Regions from separate parts of the Homo sapiens genome. Here region 1 is linked to region 2. Evidence: promoter capture Hi-C in human tissues and cell types (Jung and others, 2019). All regions are on one chromosome and are shown on one strand. Each heading gives the region's core, a stretch centred on a gene start or on the middle of the fragment in contact. The rest is flanking DNA. Distances are from core to core; before and after follow the strand shown.

The links. Contacts are between HindIII fragments. The study calls those that stand out against the background at their distance.
Region 1: the fragment with the promoter of CCL25 here is called in contact with a fragment that was not itself captured in region 2 in 1 of the 25 tissues and cell types used here (spleen).

What each region holds. Positions count from the first base shown.
Region 1 is chr19:8,050,365-8,054,603 of GRCh38, reverse strand. CCL25 (C-C motif chemokine ligand 25) reads right to left here and starts at 1,844. Exons shown (of 6, transcript NM_005624.4): 1 at 1,782-1,844; 2 at 1,482-1,604. The coding sequence starts at 1,554. RefSeq lists silencers at 3,842-3,901, 4,202-4,239. The HindIII fragment of the contact is 31,009 bases long and covers 1-4,239 here.
Region 2 is chr19:8,377,741-8,382,351 of GRCh38, reverse strand. All of the region lies in intron 1 of RAB11B-AS1 (RAB11B antisense RNA 1), which reads left to right. It overlaps LOC124904632 (a long non-coding RNA gene), which reads right to left and starts at 2,753. Exons shown (of 2, transcript XR_007067128.1): 1 at 2,375-2,753. The HindIII fragment of the contact is 3,783 bases long and covers 1-3,261 here.

The sequences.
Region 1 (4,239 bases), core at 595-3,094, 330 kb after region 2:
GCTGATGAGATAGTGGAGGAAGCTGGGGTGCAATTCTCTGCCTAAATGGCCTTTGGAGTTCTCTGCAATCTCACCTCTGCCAGAACTAACCTCCAGAGGCCGAGTCTGAGTCCCTGCAGAGCCCAGCCCAGCAGGAGCAGGGAAAGGGAGGACTCGAGCCCTCCAGGTGTCTCCCAACCGCGGCCTCTGAGGGCAAGGGGCAGCGCATTCTGTTGGAACCTCGGACTGCAGTGCCAGGCAGGTAGTTCCCAAGGCTGGAGGCCAGGATCGAAGGGCTGGGCTGGGCCTGGCTCTGATAGCAAAACAATCAGACCACAGCCCAACCCCCTTCCCAGGCAAAGGCCAAGGACTTGGACCCATCAGACCCAGCCGAGGGGCAGGTGGGTCAGGTGGGGGCAGACAGGGAAGGAGGGTGGGACCCTGGGTCTGCCGCCCAGCCAGGGACCCTGCTTTGGCCAGCTGCTGAAACTCAGAGGATGTAGGACCCAGTGTCAGGGCTCCCGTGGGGACACCCCAGGCCCAGGAATTGTCCTTTGGCGACTGAAATCCTCAAGTGCTTGCTCTGCGGTAGGGAGTGGGGAAGAAGGAAAGAGTTCCCTATTAATAACAGGAACAGTTACTATTGCCGCCGCCAGACATGAGGCCTAGTCTTTTGCAGGCATGAGCTCACTGGACCCTCAAGTCAGAGCCATGCAGTGGGAATTTTAGATTCCCACTTTGCAGCTGAGGAAACGGAGGCTCCTAAAGGTTTAGGAAGCCGGGCACAGTGGCTCAAACCTGTAATCCTAGCACTTTGGGAGGCTGAGGCAGGCGGATCGCCTGAGATCAGGAGATCGAGACTACTCTGGCCAACATAGTGAAACCCCATCTCTACTAAAAAATACAAAAATTAGCCGGGCATGGTACACACGCCTGTAGTCCCAGCTACTTGGGAGGCTGAGGCAGAAGGATCGCTTGAGCCCAGGAGGCGGAGGTTGCAGTGAGCCAAGATCGCGCCACTGCACTCCAGCCAGGGTGACAGAGTGAGACTCTGTCTCAAAAAAAAAAAAAAAAAAATGGTTTAGGAGCAACTAACTCTCAGCTGGACTGCATGGAGGGACCAGGATGGGAATCCACTCTTGTCAGTCTCCAGGGCCCTGATCTCCAACCCCACCCCTGGCTCGGCAGGATTAGGATTCTACAATACATCCCTGGCAGTAACTGGCTTTGCCCACAGCTGGAAGCCACCCTCTGCTCCCTCACATCTTTAGGAGTCTTGCAAAAGACTCCATGGGGCTCTCGAAGAAGGAACTGGGGACTCTCCATCTCCCCGACCCCATCCCAAGAGCTAACCAAACACCAGGAGTTCCTGCATGTCAGGAGCGGGAGAATTCAGTGGAGATGGGATTGGGGAGACTTCCGGAGGAGATAAGAGACAAAAGGGGTGGGGTGGGGGCATGGGGAGAGGGGCACTTGGTGGTAGGCATTGCCGAACACAGTACCTTGGGTGTGGACAGCGGGGGCCCAGGCTCCCAGGAAGCCGGCCACCAGGCAGGCCAGGAGCCACAGGTTCATGCTGCAGGCGGGTCCTCCTCCCTGGGCACCTGGACGAATAACGGGGCCACCTGGGGTCGTGGAGGGAAGTGGTAAGGACTGAGGAAGAGGAGGGGAGTGGGTACTGGGAACATCCCCCCTCTTAAGCCCCAGGCATATGGCAAGGGAAGGAGGTTGTATAAAGTAGGAACAAGTTGTGCTGGAGGGAAAAGCTGTTCATCTCAGTCATGTTCAAGGAAAAGACTCACCGATATCCACTGGGTCAAGGGAGCTGATGCCCGCCGGGCTGTAGGCCAAGCTGTCCCATCTGCAGGACCAACACGCTGAGCTTCACTCTTTATAGACAGAGCCCCACCCAGCCACCCCCTGCCCGCCCTCCTCCCTTCCTCCTCCTCTCCACCTGCACTCTCAGCCTCTGGAATTCTCCCTCTTCTACAGCAAGCTCCAACCTCGACCCACAGGCCCCCTTGCCTCCCCACTCCCCATCCCAGGCCTCCCAGCCAGCACCCCTACTGTCTCCAGAAAGGGCCTTTTCCCCTGTTTCCCTCACCTGCACACACCTGGTGGACACTGGCTGCCTGCGAACAAGGCTCAGACTGCCTTGAGCCCCCAAACAAGCCCTTACCTTCATGCTCCCCCCGCCCTCAAGCCACCTGTTCCCTGGTGGGTCCCCAACTTCACTCCATTTCCCTCTCCTTCCACACCATGGTTAGGTAACTTAGCATGTCACAGAAATCCTCTGGTTGTGATCACAGGCAAATCCATAGAAACAGAAAGTAAATTAGCGGTGGCCACAGGATGGGGGGAGGGGAGAATGAAGGACTGACTGTGAGAGGGTATGGGTTTCCTTTTGTTCTGAAATTAGATGAGAGTGATGGTTACATAACTCTATGAATATAGTCAGCACGGCACAATGGTGCACCTCCCACCGGTGAACAACCCCAACAAGAAAGAAACTCTCTAGGCCAGGCATGGTGGCTCATGTCTGTAAGCCCAACACTTTGGGAGGCCGAGGCCAGAGGATTGCTTGAGCCCAGGAGCTCAAGACCACCCCGGGCAATATAGAGAGACCTGCGTCACTACAAAAATTTTTTAAAAAATTAGCCTGACGTAGTAGTGCATACCTGTAGTCCCAGCCACTCAGGAGGCTGAGGTGTGAGGATTGCTTGAGCCTTGGAGGTTGAGGCTGCAGTGAGCTGTGATCATGCCACTGCACTCCAGCCTGGGCAACAGAGCAAGACCCTGTCTCAAAAAATGGAAAAAAAAACGGTGGCCGGACACAGTGGCTCACACCTGTAATACCAGCACTTTGGGAGGCCGAGGCAGGCGGATCCTCTGAGGTCAGGAGTTCGAGACCAGCCTGGCCAACATGGCAAAACCCCATCTCTACTAAAATTACAAAAATTAGCCGAGTGTGGTGGGGGGGCACCTGTAATTCCAGCTACTCAGGAGGCTGAGGCAGGAGAATCGCTTGAACCCGGGAGGCGGAGGTTGCAGTGAGCCGAGATTGGGCCACTGCATTCCAGCCTGGGCGACAAGAGTGAAACTCTGTCTCAAAAAAAAAAAAAAAAAAAAAAACAAAAGAAAAAGAAAAAATGGAAGAAATGTTTTGTTTTTGGAAGAAAAGCCAGGAGCCCCGGGTAGCCATGCCCTCAGGAAGCAAAGCAACATTCACCGAGAAGGCATGTCTTTTTTTTTTTTCTTCTGAGACGGAGTCTTGCTCTTTTGCCCAGGCTGGAGTGCGGTGGCGCTGTCTCGGCTCACTGCAAGCTCCGTCTCCCGGGTTCACGCCATTCTCCTGCCTCAGCCTCCCGAGTAGCTGGGACTACAGGCTCCCGCCACCACGCCTGGCTAATTTTTTGTATTTTTAGTAGAGACGGGGTTTCACCATGTTAGCCAGGATGGGAGAAGGCATGTCTTCTTTCCCTGGGGCAGCAGGACCCAGCCAGGACACAGGGACTGGGGGAGACACGAGGTGAAGATTAGGGAGGGCGAAAGGAGCGCTGCAGAGGCCGCACAGCTGATTGCTTTAAACTTTTTATCGCCTGCATCCATAGCTACATCTGACCTCTGTGGGTATTTATCACATCCTAAACTCCTTTCTCATTTCTCCCCTTCCACTGGGAGCCCAGAGGCGGCGGCCCCTAGCCTACTTCCCTGTCCCAAACCACATGGCCGGGTGAGTGGGGCTTAGAGGTGGGGCCGGGCCTGGTGGGTGTGGCTTCTAGCCGGGGACGTGACTAGATAAATGACACTTAGAGCCCAGGGGCAGGGCTGGGTGGGCGTGGCTTATGGCTATGGGCGGGGCTTGCTATATGGCTCCGAGTCAGGGGCAGGGCAGAGTGAGTGGGATTTAAGACAGTGGGCGGAGCCTGACAGATGGCGCTTATGGTAAGGGGCCGGGCTTTGTAGGAGGGGCTTAGACTGGGGCGGGGCTTGCACGGTCAGCCCCGCCCCACCAGAGCAGTTAAGACGCGTCGGGGGCAGGTGCTCTCACCCGTCCCGTTGCTGCGGCCAGTGGCAGCCCACGGGCCGGGGCGCTGTTCCAGTTCCTCCGCCTCTTGCTCTGGGTGGGTGAGGCTGGACCAGGACGCGGCTCCGCGTGGCTGCGAGCGTGGGGAAGCGGCGTGGCGGGCTGGGGCCAGCCTCTCCGCTACGGCTCACTGCCCCCTACCTTCCCAACCCGCGGGCCGCGGCCAAGACGGT
Region 2 (4,611 bases), core at 121-2,620:
TTCCTCTTGGTCCCTGTTATAGAACAGTGAGGTTGCCAGGTTTAATAATGCCTCTAGATTTTGTTCAGGGCACAGGGCTCACTTTTGGAGCTTTCTCCTGATATCTGTGGCTGATTGGATAATAAACTTATCTTTTAGGATCAATTGACCCTTGAGTGATTTGGGTGACAGGGGAGTATATTTTCTTAAGGCCTTCTGTAGCCACTCGAGGAAGGCAGAAGGATTTTCTTCCTTTCCCTGAGTTATGGTGGACATCAGTGAATAATTCATGGGCTTCTTCCTAATTATCCTTAGTCCTTCTAGAACATAGGTCAACAGATGTTTATGACTCCAGTCCCCATGATCTGAATTGAAGTCCCAGTGGGGATCCATACTGGGGATGGCTTGCTGACCAGTAGGGAATTTGTCCCTTTCTTCAGCTGTCATTCTATCATTTACTTAACTAAGATACCAGGTACCTCCAAAGTCTTGGGCTGCAGCTAAAGCTGCATTATTTTCATTAAAGGCCAGGGTTTGATCTAACAATAGCATGACATCTCTCCAAGTGAGATTGAAGATTTGCCCTAGACCCTGTAGGACATCTATGTACCTATCAGGATCATCTGAAAACTTCCCCAGGTGTGCCTTGATCTGCTTTAAATCAGAGAGGGAGAAGTAGACATGTACCCATGTTAGGCCAAATTCCCCTCCCGCTACAATTTGAAGGGGACATAACCGACAGCCCAGGGGAGTTTTGTGGTCCTTTGGAGATTTCTTTGCTTATTTCCTTCTGGGCAGGGGAGATTAGAGGAGGCTTGTCACTAATACGAAGGGGAGCTGTAGGGAGGCTAGGATATGGGGGTAAGCTGAAAGGTTCTCCTGTGGGATGTAAATTGCAACCTTTGCATAGATGTGTATTCTCCTTTAATGAAAGGAAAGCTTGGACATAACTATTTCACTCCATTTGCCTTTCTCTTACAGAAAAGGTCAAGCTGCAGGATAGTATTGTAATTTGTACTTCCCTCAGATGGCCATTTTTCCCCATCAGAGAGAGAATATTGGGGCCAGGCCACAGTGCAGAAAAAAATGAGCTGCCTCTTTTTCAGGGTTTGCAGGTCAGACTGGTCCCAATGGCCTAGGATGCATTTCAAGGGTGAGCCTGTTGATGCCTGTTTCCCATCTGAAAGACAAAACCACCCACGATTTTGGTGTGTTTTTCTTCTCCCCCTGCCCAAGAATCCACAATGGTCCTTGGGCCCTGCTGATCGGAATAGTTGCGCTCACTGATGCAGCAGCAGAAACAACCCCTGCCCAAGAACCCGTAATGGTCACTAGACCCTGCTGATTGGAATAGTTGCACTCACCAACGCAGCAGCAGAAACAGTAGCTTTCCTCCCAGACCACAAGGAGAACCGAGGAAGGTCGGATTTAGTGGCCCTTACCAACGCATTCTCAAAAAACCTGCACCCTTGCCTGTCCTCCTAGACCACAAAGATGACCGAGAAAAATTGGATTTAGTGGCCCTTACCAACACATTCTCGAAAACCTGTTACAGTCCTAAGCATTCTCCTTTTAGTATTGGGACCTTACCAATTTCCTACAATGATGTTATGCCCCAAAAATGAAGTGGAGGGCCATACCATGAGGGAAGGAAGGGATCTCCAGGGTTGGAAGAGTGACACCTTTTGTCCTCACTTATATGAATAGGAAGAATACAATTTCTGAGGCTCCCCATATCCTAGCTTCAGGAATAGCTTTTATTAGTCCTGCTTGTCTGAGGAGGGATCCTAAAATTCCAGATAGCCCCCCTACAACAGGGCTTTGGGCAAAAATTATGTCTTTCTGATTAGTGAGCCTAGGTGCCTAAAGAAGGTAACAGAGTCCTGAAGTTTATACTAGAAGTCATTCTTATAGGAGAAACTAGAAAAGCACCAGAGACAGGGAGTGGTTTTTAGAGGTGGGACTAGCCTCGGAGAAGAGAGGCGAGAGGAAGTTTGTCTGACAGGCATTAGGACCCAGGAGGCAAGGGTCAGGACAGATAGGATAGATGGGCGAGTCTCACTTGGGCGACATGACTTTGAGAGTTCTGCTCATGGCCACAGGATCAACCAACTTGTTGTCAAGACCCCAGAGCTGAATGGCTTTCCTGTCAACCCTCGACTCAGCCCAGAAGTACAGGAAAAGCGGAAGCTGGTTCCAGGCAAACTAACGCTCCCAACTCCAAAAAGTCGGGGTTTGTTAGAGAGCCCCTTCCCAGAAAGCCTCACACCCATGTCTTTAGTCCAGCACCTGCGCTAGTCGCTTTTAACTGGCCGACAGGTGCCCGGTATTTAGCCCCCAAATTCTAAGGAAAAATAGGACGAATAGCAAGCGAAAGGGGTCCGATGGTACTCACCGCTTGGTGATAGGCGATAGTCTCACCGCTTGGTGATAGGCGATAGTCCCTTCGTGGTCGCCAAAATGTGTCCAGTATTGGTGGGTTCTTGGTCTCACTGACTTCAAGAATGAAGCTGTGGACCCTCACGGTGAGTGTTACAGTTCTTAAAGATGGTGTGTCTGGAGTTTGTTCCTTCTGATGTTTGGATGTGTCTGGAGTTTATTCCTTCTGGTAGGTTCGTGGTCTCGCTGACTTCAGGAGTGAAGCTGCAGATCTTTGCGGTGAGTGTTACAGCTCATAAAGGTGGTGCGGACCCAAAGAGTGAGCAGCAGCAAGATTTATTGCGAAGAGTGAAAGAACAGAGCTTCTACAGCGTGGAAGGGAACCTGAGTGGGTTGCTGCTGCTGGCTCGGGTGGCCTTTTATTCCCTTATTTGGCCCCACCCACATCCTGCTGATTGGTCTATTTTACAGAGAGCTGATTGGTCCATTTTACAGAGTGCTGATTGTTCCGTTTTAGAGTGCTGATTTGTCCATTTTGACAGAGTGCTGATTGGTGCATTTACAAAACTTTAGCTAGACACAAAGTGCTGATTGGTGCATTTACAATCCTTTAGCTAGACAGAAAATTCTCCAAGTCCCCTACCTGATTAGCTAGACACAGAGCGCTGATTGGTGCATTTACAAACCTTTAGCTAGACACAGAGTGCTGATTGGTGCATTTACAATCCTTTAGCTAGACACAGAGTGCTGATTGGTACGTTTACAATCCTTTAGCTAGACAGAAAAGTTCAAGTCCCCACCCGACCCAGAAGCCTAGCCGGCTTCACCTCTCAATCCCATAAACAAATTTGACTCCTTCCCCATATCCACTCCCCCTCTTGTGTCTCCATCCTTCCTTCCCTCCCTCCCATCAAACCCAGAGGACATGGACTTCTGTCTCATCTTCTCCTCTCTGCCTCCCTCCCTCTATCATCCTCAGTTGCCTTATTCTGTCTCTCCTCCCTCTGAAATTTCTCTTGATTCTTTTTTTTTTTTTTTGAGGCAGGGTCTCACTCTGTTGCCCAGGCTGGAGTGCAGTGGCATGATCTCGGCTCACTGCACCCTCTGCCTCCCGAGTCCAAGCAATTCTCTGCCTTAGCCTCTCAAGTAGCTGGGATTACAGGCGCCCACCACCACACCTGGCTAATTTTTTTGTATTTTTAGTAGAGATGGGGTTTCACTATCTTGGCCAGGCTGGTCTTGAACTCCTAACCTCATGATCCACCCGCCTTGGCCTCCCAAAGTGCTGGGATTATAGGCATGAGCCACTGCACCCGGACTTTTTAAAAATTTATCGTAGAGATGAGGTCTTGCTGTGTTGCGTAGGCTGGTCTCAAACTCCAAGGTCCTCCAGCCTCAGCCTCCCAAAGAGCTGGGATTACAGTCGCGAGGCACTGGACCCAGCCTGTGATGAATATTAATGCCTTATTAATTCTTTACCACCCCCTCCCCACACCATGAGGCCAGGAAGGGATGGTGGCATGGAGGGGTGGGGTGTCAAAACCATCCCCATTTTCCAAATGCAGGAACTGGGGCCAGTGAGCTCCTGTGGTCCAGGAGAGGGATGTGATTTACAGCTGCAGCTCTGGAGTTTAACAGGTCCAGGTTCACATCCCAGCTTCCTGGCCCCTTGTTAGTTTCCTGCCATGGTGTTTTTCTTTTCTTTCTTTTTTTCTTTCTTTTTTGAGACAGAGTCTTGCTCTGTCACCCAGGCTGGAGTGCAGTGGTGCAATCTCAGCTCACTGCAACCTCCGCCTCCCAGGTTCAAGTGATTCTCCTGCCTTAGCCTCCCGAATAGCTGGGACTACGGGCATGTGCCACCATGCCTGGCTAATTTTTTGTATTTTTAGTAGAGACGGGGTTTCACCGTGTCAGCCAGTATGGTCTTGATCTCCTGACCTTGTGATCTACCCACCTCAGCCTCCCAGAGTGCGGGGAGTGTAGGAGTGCGCCACCGTGCCCAGGTGGTGGTTTTTTTTTTTTTTTTTCTGTCGTTCCCCAGGTTGGAGGGGCAGGAAATGCTTTGAGGTCAAGGTGGCTGCAGGAAAAAGGATGACATTGAAGAGATGAGCCCATCATTGGCAGAGCCTGGAAATGAAGAGGGTGTGGCTAGAGGAACCCCCTCTCCTGCAGACTGGACTCACCACCAGCTCCAGTGACAGTGGGCTCAGAGGAGATCCTCTAAGCCTGCTCAGTACAGGACACAGGCAAACA